Linked DNA regions of Homo sapiens: region 2 is linked to region 1. The links are contacts of gene promoters, found by promoter capture Hi-C in human tissues and cell types (Jung and others, 2019). All regions are on one chromosome and are shown on one strand. Each heading gives the region's core, a stretch centred on a gene start or on the middle of the fragment in contact. The rest is flanking DNA. Distances are from core to core; before and after follow the strand shown. Region 1 holds the start of OLIG3 (oligodendrocyte transcription factor 3). Region 2 has its middle 10 kb from the start of LINC03004.

The links. The method cuts DNA at HindIII sites, captures the fragments that hold promoters and counts their contacts. A contact is called where the count stands out against the background at its distance.
Region 2: a contact is called between a fragment that was not itself captured here and the fragment with the promoter of OLIG3 in region 1, in 1 of the 25 tissues and cell types used here (neural progenitor cells).

Annotation. Positions count from the first base shown.
Region 1 is chr6:137,492,379-137,496,884 of GRCh38, forward strand. OLIG3 (oligodendrocyte transcription factor 3) reads right to left here and starts at 2,016. Exons shown (of 1, transcript NM_175747.2): 1 at 1-2,016. The coding sequence starts at 1,792. The coding sequence ends at 974. RefSeq lists enhancers at 926-1,425, 3,107-3,640, 3,641-4,173. The HindIII fragment of the contact is 10,277 bases long and covers 1-4,506 here.
Region 2 is chr6:137,652,894-137,657,399 of GRCh38, forward strand. No RefSeq gene overlaps it. Among named protein-coding and RNA genes, the nearest start is that of LINC03004, 10 kb to the right of the region's middle. RefSeq lists an enhancer at 52-568. The HindIII fragment of the contact is 7,145 bases long and covers 1-4,506 here.

The DNA of each region.
Region 1 (4,506 bases), core at 766-3,265:
TAAGTTTTCAAAGCTGATAATAGAGAGAGCCAACCCCGCATGCAGAATAACTGAGCGAGGGGGGGTGGCGCAAGCTACTAGAGGGAGCCCAGGCTTTTACAATAGCGGCCCCAGAACAGCAAAGGAAGGTTCCGAATAAAGTTTGAAGGGGGTGGGGGTGGGAGAAGAAGCGCGTGTGCGTGAGTGTGGGTCTTTGCACTCTGCCCCTTTTTTCATTTCATACAACCACAGACAGATATATGGAGTACTTGGGATAATTCACTAATAAATCCTTGTTACAAGGAAAACGGCACCACAGCCTGCACGACATATTCAGACAAGATTCATTTAGAAGCGTGCATGCATTCTTTTGACCTACACTGCGTCGAAAGGAAAACCCACATAGGAGGTGTCATGCCCTGGACCTCGGTTGAGATTCAAAACTTGGGTCTTGATCTCTCTCGCGCTCTCTCTCTCTTTCTCTCTCCATTGTCTCTAGAAAAACTGTGGCAAGGACAGAGACAATCATAATCGCATCCATCTCAAGAAAATATTTACATTTGTTTTGCACAAAAGGGATGGCCGTCTTTTTCCAAAGCGAGAACACAGAGTCAGAGAAAGCCAACTCAAAAGTCCCTTCGCAAGTTTTTAACTACACCGATCCCATCTTTATACAACAAATGCAGTTTTGACAAGAGCATATGGCAGTGAAAAATACTGGCGCGGCATGGGGAAAAGAAGCATGCATGCAAAACACACGACATCTGGTTCGAGTCCCCCTTTGCTACCACCTAGAAATTGCGGTTTGATTTTGGTCCTTTCCCTCCGGGGGTCAAGTGGAGTCTGAGATCTCTCAGACAGCGTGGGAGGCTGCGGGCCCCGGAGCCTGCCCTCCCGTGGGCCGAGCGTGCAGCCTCCCTCTTCCCTCCCGGCCCGGCACCGCGGCCCCTCCCGCCGCTCTCCCTCCTCCTTGGCAGCCGGGCCCGCCCGCTGCTCACTTGAGCAAGTCCTTGGACTCGGCCGACAGCCGGGCCATGTTGGCTGTGGAGAGAGCGGACAGGTGCGGCGGCGGCGGCATCTGGCAGATGGTGCAGGGGCAGGGCAGACCAGCCCAGTGCTGGAAGCCGCTGCCCAGCTGCAGCGCGGGCGGCGTGGAGGGCGCCTTGAGTAGCGAGTGGGGAGGCCGGATGGTGCCGATGGCGGGAAGTGAGGCGGCGGACAGCGGTGACGAGGCGTTGCCAGATGAGAGCGCGCCGCCCAAGATGGGGTGCACCGGGTGCACGGAGTTGGCCGCGTGCGCGGGGTGGCCGGCCGAGTGGCCCACGGTCCCGCAGTGAAAGGCCGAGTGGTGGCCCCCATAGATCTCGCCAACCAGCCTCTTCATCTCCTCCAGGGAGCTGGTGAGCATGAGGATGTAGTTTCTGGCGAGCAGGAGTGTGGCGATCTTGGAGAGCTTGCGCACCGACGGCCCATGCGCGTAGGGCATGACTTCGCGCAGCCCGTCCATGGCTAGGTTCAGGTCGTGCATCCGCTTGCGTTCGCGTCCGTTGATCTTCAGCCTCAACTGCTGTAGGTCCTGCTCCGACAGCTGCTTCTTGATTTTGTACTTGCTGCTCTCTCCCGCGGCCTTGGCGCCAGCCCGCGAGAGGCTTTCCCCGGGCATCTTCTGCATCATATCGCCCTGCGTGGACGAGACCGAGTTGAGACGGCTCTCCTGGTGGTGGTGGTGGCGGTGGTGGTGGTCCCTCAGGTACATCTCATCCATGTCCGGAGATGAAGCTCTGCTGGAGACAGAGCTCGAATCAGAATTCATTTTATTACAGGGGATGCGGCCCTACCGTGGGGAGGCTTTAGGCGGGAAATTAAAGAAAATCTTGAATTAAAAAAAAAAAATCTGCACTGCCCAGGAACCCACTTCTCCGCGGCAAGACGTGAGAAGAAAAGCGGAGACGCTGCTTTTCCCCGCCTCTCTCCCTCCCACGCCCCTCTCTCTGGTTAGGCTGCTTCCTGGACAGCTAGTTGGTGTGTGCTTGAACTAACCTCACGCTGAAAAAGAGGGGCTTTTATAGAGCTGCGGCGGAGAAAAGAGACAAAAGGAGCCCTCCTATCTATCCTGGGCTGGTTAGGATGACGTGCCATCATTCAGGGCGGTGCGCTTTGCTGTCCCATTTAGCAAGGATTCCTATTCATATTCATTGTGGGGCCGCCCTGGGACACCTCTGCTCCGAACCGCTAGGAGCCCCCAGGCACAAAACCCTCTGATTGACACACTCACCGCTCCAGCTTACGCCTTCCTGATTTTTTTTTTAACTTTCTTCCACCCCACCCCCCTTCCCAATTTCTCTAACCAAATCACACATCAGGAACGGAAGGAAGGCAAGAGAAGGTGGCCAGGCGGTTGGTGGAGGTTCCTCTGAGTTTGGAGAGAGGAATTGAAACATTCGCTCTCCTTTCTTTCCTGGCTGCTCCCAAGTTTAGAGAAATATGGGCAAAAATAGGTCTCAGTGGAAAGGTTTGAGGGACAGAGGTGCGGTCGGAGGGAAGGTGCTGCCAGCGGGGGCTGGGGGTGGTGGGAAGACTGCATGCCGACTTTCTCTGTCTCAATATTTTTTTTTCATTAGATCTCTTTTCCTAAACACTTCCATTCTGTCAATTTTGTTTATTGGGCCCTTCTGGTGTGGTTTCAACGGGATGTCCATGTTCGGTGATGGCTTTGCTCCTGGCAGTATTGTGGCGGAGAGGTCTCTTATTTTCTGTGTCCTCTCTTTCGTTTTAAAACATGGATTTCTAAAAGAATTTCAGTTTTGCACAATTCTTTAACTTCCTAGACCAAAAACTGCGAAAAAAAAATGTTAATGTCACAAGAAAAGCAACTTGGGAGGATGGGAAGGAAAAGGAGCCAAGGAGGCAGAGAGAGAGATTGTTAGGTTCCTGAGAGCTCCAGAGAGATTGTTCCCACTCCAGGCTTCCTGGACCTTGGCGCTGGCGCAAAACGGTGGGACGGTCCGCGCCCGAAGCTCCGCCGGGCCTCCTCTGGCCGCTGTGCTGACGTGCCCCGAGCTCCGGGAACTCAGCGGCACCCCGGCCTGCGCGGGTGGGTCCACCAGGCTGGGGCCGCCGTACGGCGTCGGACAGGGAAATCAGAAGCTCATAATAAACTATCTGATGTCGGGGTGGTGGGGCGGGGGGGTGGGGTGCGTGGGCAAAGAAGCACGGGGGAAGGGAAACAACGAAAGGACCTAGAAAGCCCCTTGTGCGTGCCCGGGCACTGCGGTTCAGCGCAGAGTCGTTTCTGGGAATAAAGAGGAGGTCGGAGTTTGGAGCCTTCGGTGCGAGTGCGGAGGTGGGCGTAGATCTTTCTTCCCCCTTGCTGTGTTTTTGTGATCAAGACTTTAGCTCAGCAGCACGAGGGGCGGGAAGGCAGAAATCCCGGGAAGGGAGAGAGCCCCAGGAGTGGTCTCTAGAAGAACCCGGACACCGCCCCTCTCCCGGCTTGGTGGAACGGGAAACAAACGCTAGCTAGTGACTGAGAGTCTCGGTGGAAGTGTGAAATCGAATCAATCGCGGAACCTCGGGCACTTGGGGCCTCTTGCGCCGCTGAGTCACTTCGAAGAACAGGATGCCCCCCTTTCCCTTGACTCAAACCGAGCGGTCAGTGGGAGAGGGATGCGCGCCCAGGTCCGGAGTTTGCACGCTCTGAGGCTGTGCCCCACTGACAGTCACGCTGCGAAGGCAGCTCTGGCCAATACCAGAAGGATGGGCAAACGCAACATTGGCATGGATGCTTTTGCTACACCGAATTTTGTTTTTCTGTAATGGGGGAAAAATGGCCAACAGCCCTTCGTCAAGGCCAGGAAGTTAGTGCTCTTGCAGATTGGACAGGAGCCTCTTCTACCACCTTCATCTCGGTGGAAGGAAAGTTTCTTAATTCAAGAGGTTAGATTGGATGTGGAAAGACTAATGTCCAAAAGCATTCCTAATACCAAGCATAAAGAATGTTTCTTAATTCACCAGACTCGCCAATAAGATAGTGACATACACTAAGTCTTCCTGGTTATTTAAAAAAGGAGGGGAGGGGGGAAGTGCTCCAGAACTTGTGCAGTCCCAGGTGATGGGAGGAAGCTAGTGGCTAGTCCTAACGACAACCCTCTGCGACTCCCCTGCTGATCAAATGGGGTGAGGAGAGAGAGGCGGACGGGGGAGGGCATTGGGAGCGAGCACTGGACTGGACGAAGAGCAGCTTCCCCGCCCTGCGGACGGTGCACAGGTCTGGCCCCCGCCGTCCTCCTGAGCCACCTCCCTGACCCTAGGTCGTCGGCGGCGTCTGTCCTTCCCACACCCAGACTGAAAACGCTGCACCTGAGTTTTGATTTGGGGAAGTAGAATTGTCTGGTCAGAGCAGAAGGGTTGCAAATGAAGGAGTGGAAAAATCATGTTGCTACAAGATATTTTACCCTTTAAAAAAAGTCTTGATTTTCCCAGTGGACAATGTAAAATAAAGTTTTAAAATCTCCCCCAAATTAGTAA
Region 2 (4,506 bases), core at 952-3,451, 160 kb after region 1:
GTGGTTCACACACACCCCAATGGCCACAGGCATGTGTATGGGACAGTTGGGTGGGGCAGCTCCCTGCTCCCCATTCTCTACTGTCTGGGGTGCATGGCTGAGTCTGCCGCATGTATGCACAGTGTCCAACAGCCATTAACAATGGAATGAGCCAAGGGTGGGAATGAGCCACAGCAGCTGCCTGAGCCCCAAGGGATCCCATGCAGCTGGCGGTATTCCCTGCCAGGCACCCATGGAGTCTCCCCCTCCCCCAGCCAGGGAGTCCAACCCCATCAGACAGCAATTAAGCTTCTCTCTAGGGTGGAGGAACTATTTGCATAAGAATAAGAGGTTTTTCCCCCAGGCATCCCTTTTTCTTCTCCACTCCATCAGCAGTTAACTTTTAAATGAGTTTATTTTTCCTTTTAGAAGACATTTTCTTAGGCTAGGAATGATAAGGATCATTATCATAATTTAGTCCACCTATTTATGTGGACTAATTATGTTTATATTCTCTGTAAAGTTTTAATTGTGAAAAAGGATTTGTGAGGTTGGTCTTAAGCTGTAGCCAATGTGGTATGCTTTGCATGTCTGTGTGGTCAGTAGCAAACTTTGCTGCACACCTCCATCTTGTTTTATGTCCTGAGGGCATATGTCCTGAGGGTGTGGCCTGTAACCACATGGCAAGGCTTTGTTTAGCAATCCTGCCTAGGGAATGAGTCCTTTCTGGTTTGATATCTGCACATTTTCCTAGCCCTGTCTCTTAAAGGGCTCCACCCAGCGACTGGGTTTTCTTCTGCCTGTCTGTGTAGCTATATATGTGTTATGTATATGATGTCTGTAAAAAGAGCTCTAATTAATTTGGCCTAAAGGAAGACAAGCACTTGAATCAAGTATTTTTTTAAGGGAAGATAAAAGCTGTGGTAACTTTCAGTTCAAGCGACTTTAATCTTTGAGAAATAAGGCAGTCGTAAAGGTTATTGGTAAAATGCAGATGTCATCAAAATATAAATAGGTGGACTAAATTATGCAGGTTAGATACTAGAGTTGCTAAATGTTTTAAGGTTATAAACTGCCTTTTTGGTTTTTGAGAATGTTTCAATTTGTCAGCTTCACAATTGGTAATGCCAGGGGACATATGAAACTAACCACACCCTTAATTACGCTGGAAGAAGTCAAACCTTGGCTGCACCTAGCACACAATTAAAACAACTTACCAGGTTTTACATTAAAGTTAAAAACTGCTAGGAGTTACCATTATAACATATAATTGAAACTATTGGAAATAGATTTACATGCAAAGTGTGTGAAAACAGTAAAATGTGTTTTTAGTAAAAGATTATAAAAAGGCACGAAATTGTAAATTTTTGCCTAGGAGTAAAGGATTGTTTTGAATTAGACAAGATAAAGCTAAAGGTTAAAACAAGTGGTGGAAGGATTGTGGACATTAATCTTACAGAATAGTTTCTCTGTGTGAACATATTGACTAAATTCAAAAAAGTTATTCTGTAAATTGAGCATTGAAATAAAAGCACAACAAGGTATTCTTAAGGTGCTAATCTGCTCTTTAGCAAAATTTGTAAAGGTTTATAAAAGGCTTTTGCCTCTTTAAAATTTCTGAGTCATCATTTTGGCAAAATAAATAATTTATGGTGACCTGGAATACTGTTTTATAACATCAAGTGTTTTAAACCTCTAACAAATTTAACAGGCTTCCCAAAAATCAAACTTTGGTTCCGAAATTGTCTTTCCTGACTCCTGGCTTTTCAGATACTTCAGAGGGCCCCTGGAGTGTCCAGAAAAGAGAGGTAAACATGTTTAGGTACATGGGACTGCCAAAATGATGTTCAATATACTTTAGGTAATATTTTTGTGAGTAATGCTAGCATATGCTCAAAATTATATGGGATTTCTACAATTCTAATGTCTGAGTATATGCTATCAATCATAATTAAGGTTGGTATGTTAGGTTATTGTAAATCACAGAGATAACCAAACTTCTTTGTCAATTGTGTTTCTAACTGTAACTACCCTGGACATTTTGTTATTCACAGACAATGGTTGTCTTGTTTTAATGCTTTTCAAAAGATGGTTTATACTGAGCTATAGAACTTTGACAGGTCCTCTCAAATACAGGTTTCTGATAACTTTGGAGATTGTAACATTGGAATAAAGGAAAAATGTACATGACTCATGAAGAGCTGAAGTGTTCATGAATATCAAGCAAAACTAGAACTAATGGACTGAACTCAAAACTGAAACAATCTTTTTAACTTTTGTTGGAATATTGCTGATCCCCGTTTTGTTTTTCAGGGTTAAGAAAACTTATTTTGAAGTATTTACAGCCTTTAATAACTGAGTAAGCTATACTCCTGTGAACAAAATTTGGAGCCTATTTGTCTCTCTCTCTCTCTGCCTGGTTCCTCTAGAATTTGGAAACTATCTGTGAGTATTCTTAACTTATGGCAATATAGTTGTTTGCATCAGTGCAGTAAGAATCCATTTTTCTTTTGCAACAGGATGCAAGTGGAGAAACCAGTTGTTTTACCAAGGGTTTGATTATAAGGGTATGCTTCTCTTTGAGGAGTCAAGCTTGACTTGCAGAGCTGATAAAACCCCGCAGGAAAAACTGTCCTCATACCCTTGTCTACGCAGTCCCTGTACAGGGTTCCTGACCTGTGATCAGTAAAGAATGTCACTTTCTAACTGGCCAAGGATCTCCAAGTTTATCTTGGGACCTTAAGAGGAATGGATCACCCAACTCACAGTTATTTGTGGATATAAAACCATGGTTGGGCTTGGCTTTAAAAGATATCATCTGAGATTCCTTGTGGAACAGAATTCCATCAAAGCCAATCTAAAAGGTCTATGTAGAAATAGTTATTCTTGCTGCAATTTATGCAAATAATCAGGCCATATATAAAACTAAAGTCTATTTTTGCAAACAACTCAGTCCTATCAGACACAGTGCAGGTGAGCATGGCTAATTCCTGCCGATTAAGCCAAGCCTTCCATTTCATGGATAAGGATCATGCTAGTATCCATGGTATAAATGGGGTCTAGTGAATTCCAAGGCTGCTGATGTAGGGGAAAAAGAGACATAGATAAAAGCAGATAATTCCTATTCTCTAGGCCTTCCCTTCTTCATGAGTGTAAGCTGCTTTGGCACCAATGGGCAGCACCTGCCAAGGTTGCTGGGACTTGGGGATGCAAGGATGGAGGAGGGAAAGAGGATGTTCTTCTTTTTCTCCCTCATGTATCCTGGTATTTGCTAGGAAAAGAAGGGAACCAGGGACACCTGTTCTGCTCTTTCTAGGTGGGTAGCCATTCATCTTCAGTCTGTATCCCTTTCAAATGCATCTTGAATCCGTGGGACTCCTTTGGAAAAAAATGCTTTCTTCTTTCCTTTTTCCTCCTCTGTCCTCTCCTCATTGATGGGTAATTGTGTCTCTGTACTATGGGACACTCCCCTCAAATGCATTCTCCAAACTGGGGAAAGTTAATTTCCCAAACCTCAAACTGGTTGGCTTAGGACAGGGCTCAGGTGAAGGGAACCCAGAAGCCCAACATGCTGGCAAAAGGGTAAAGTTTTTTTCACCAGTTGGGCTTTTGGCCTCCCGCTCCCTGTGCAAACTGGTAAAAGGCCTCAGAATTTTTAAGTTGTCCTTAACCCGCCCCCCGGCCCCGGCCTTGTTTTATTTTGATACATATTTTCTAATAATCCAGTTTTTCTCTTCTCCCCTTCAGTCCATCAAACTCCAAATGGTCATGCAACTGGAGCCTTGGACAATGGCCCATTCTGCCAGGCTCCCTTAGATAGGCCTCTGAGGGAGCTCTGATGGCCATTTTCCCCAAAACAATGTCCCTTGTCAGTAGAAAGCAGTTAAGATTGGTCTTTGATCTTATCCTTCTTTTAAAGGCAGTTAGATGTACTTCTTCAGAGGGGGAATGAGACAGCCAAATAGGAGAGGGACCCAGAAAAACTCCAACCGGTCTGCACACTGGGAGGAGTGCGCACTGGCATGGAGCTTCAGGAAGTTCACGCTGTTTGCAAGAGGGGAGCCTGGCCTCTCCTCATCCGGTGTGGCAACCTGGGTATTCAATCTGAGATGGGGCCTGTTAACAGGAACCTCTCTCTCTTTGCTGAGTTTTTTTCCTTTCCACCAAAAAAACCCTGCCCTCCTCAAATTGTCTGCAAGCCTAATTTTTTGTGTTCATGTGACAAGGACCCTGTCTTTAGCTGAACTAAGGAAAAATTCCTACAACAGCGCCATCCCCAAATTCCTGGGTTTGGCTGGTGATAAGAGGACATCAGAAAGGACATCAGAAACATAAGTGATAGCAATATAACTTTCTGGAATAAAACACTTTCCAGTACAATAAGTAGGCTTTCCCAAGTCTTTGTTATACCACAGTGGCCTATAAGGTTTCTTGTTGTTGCCCTCAGCTCCTGGAAGAACAGAATCATTCTTGTCAGCTTTGCTTGTAATTCTTTCTCATTATGTCAGTTAGAAAGACAGGTGCTGT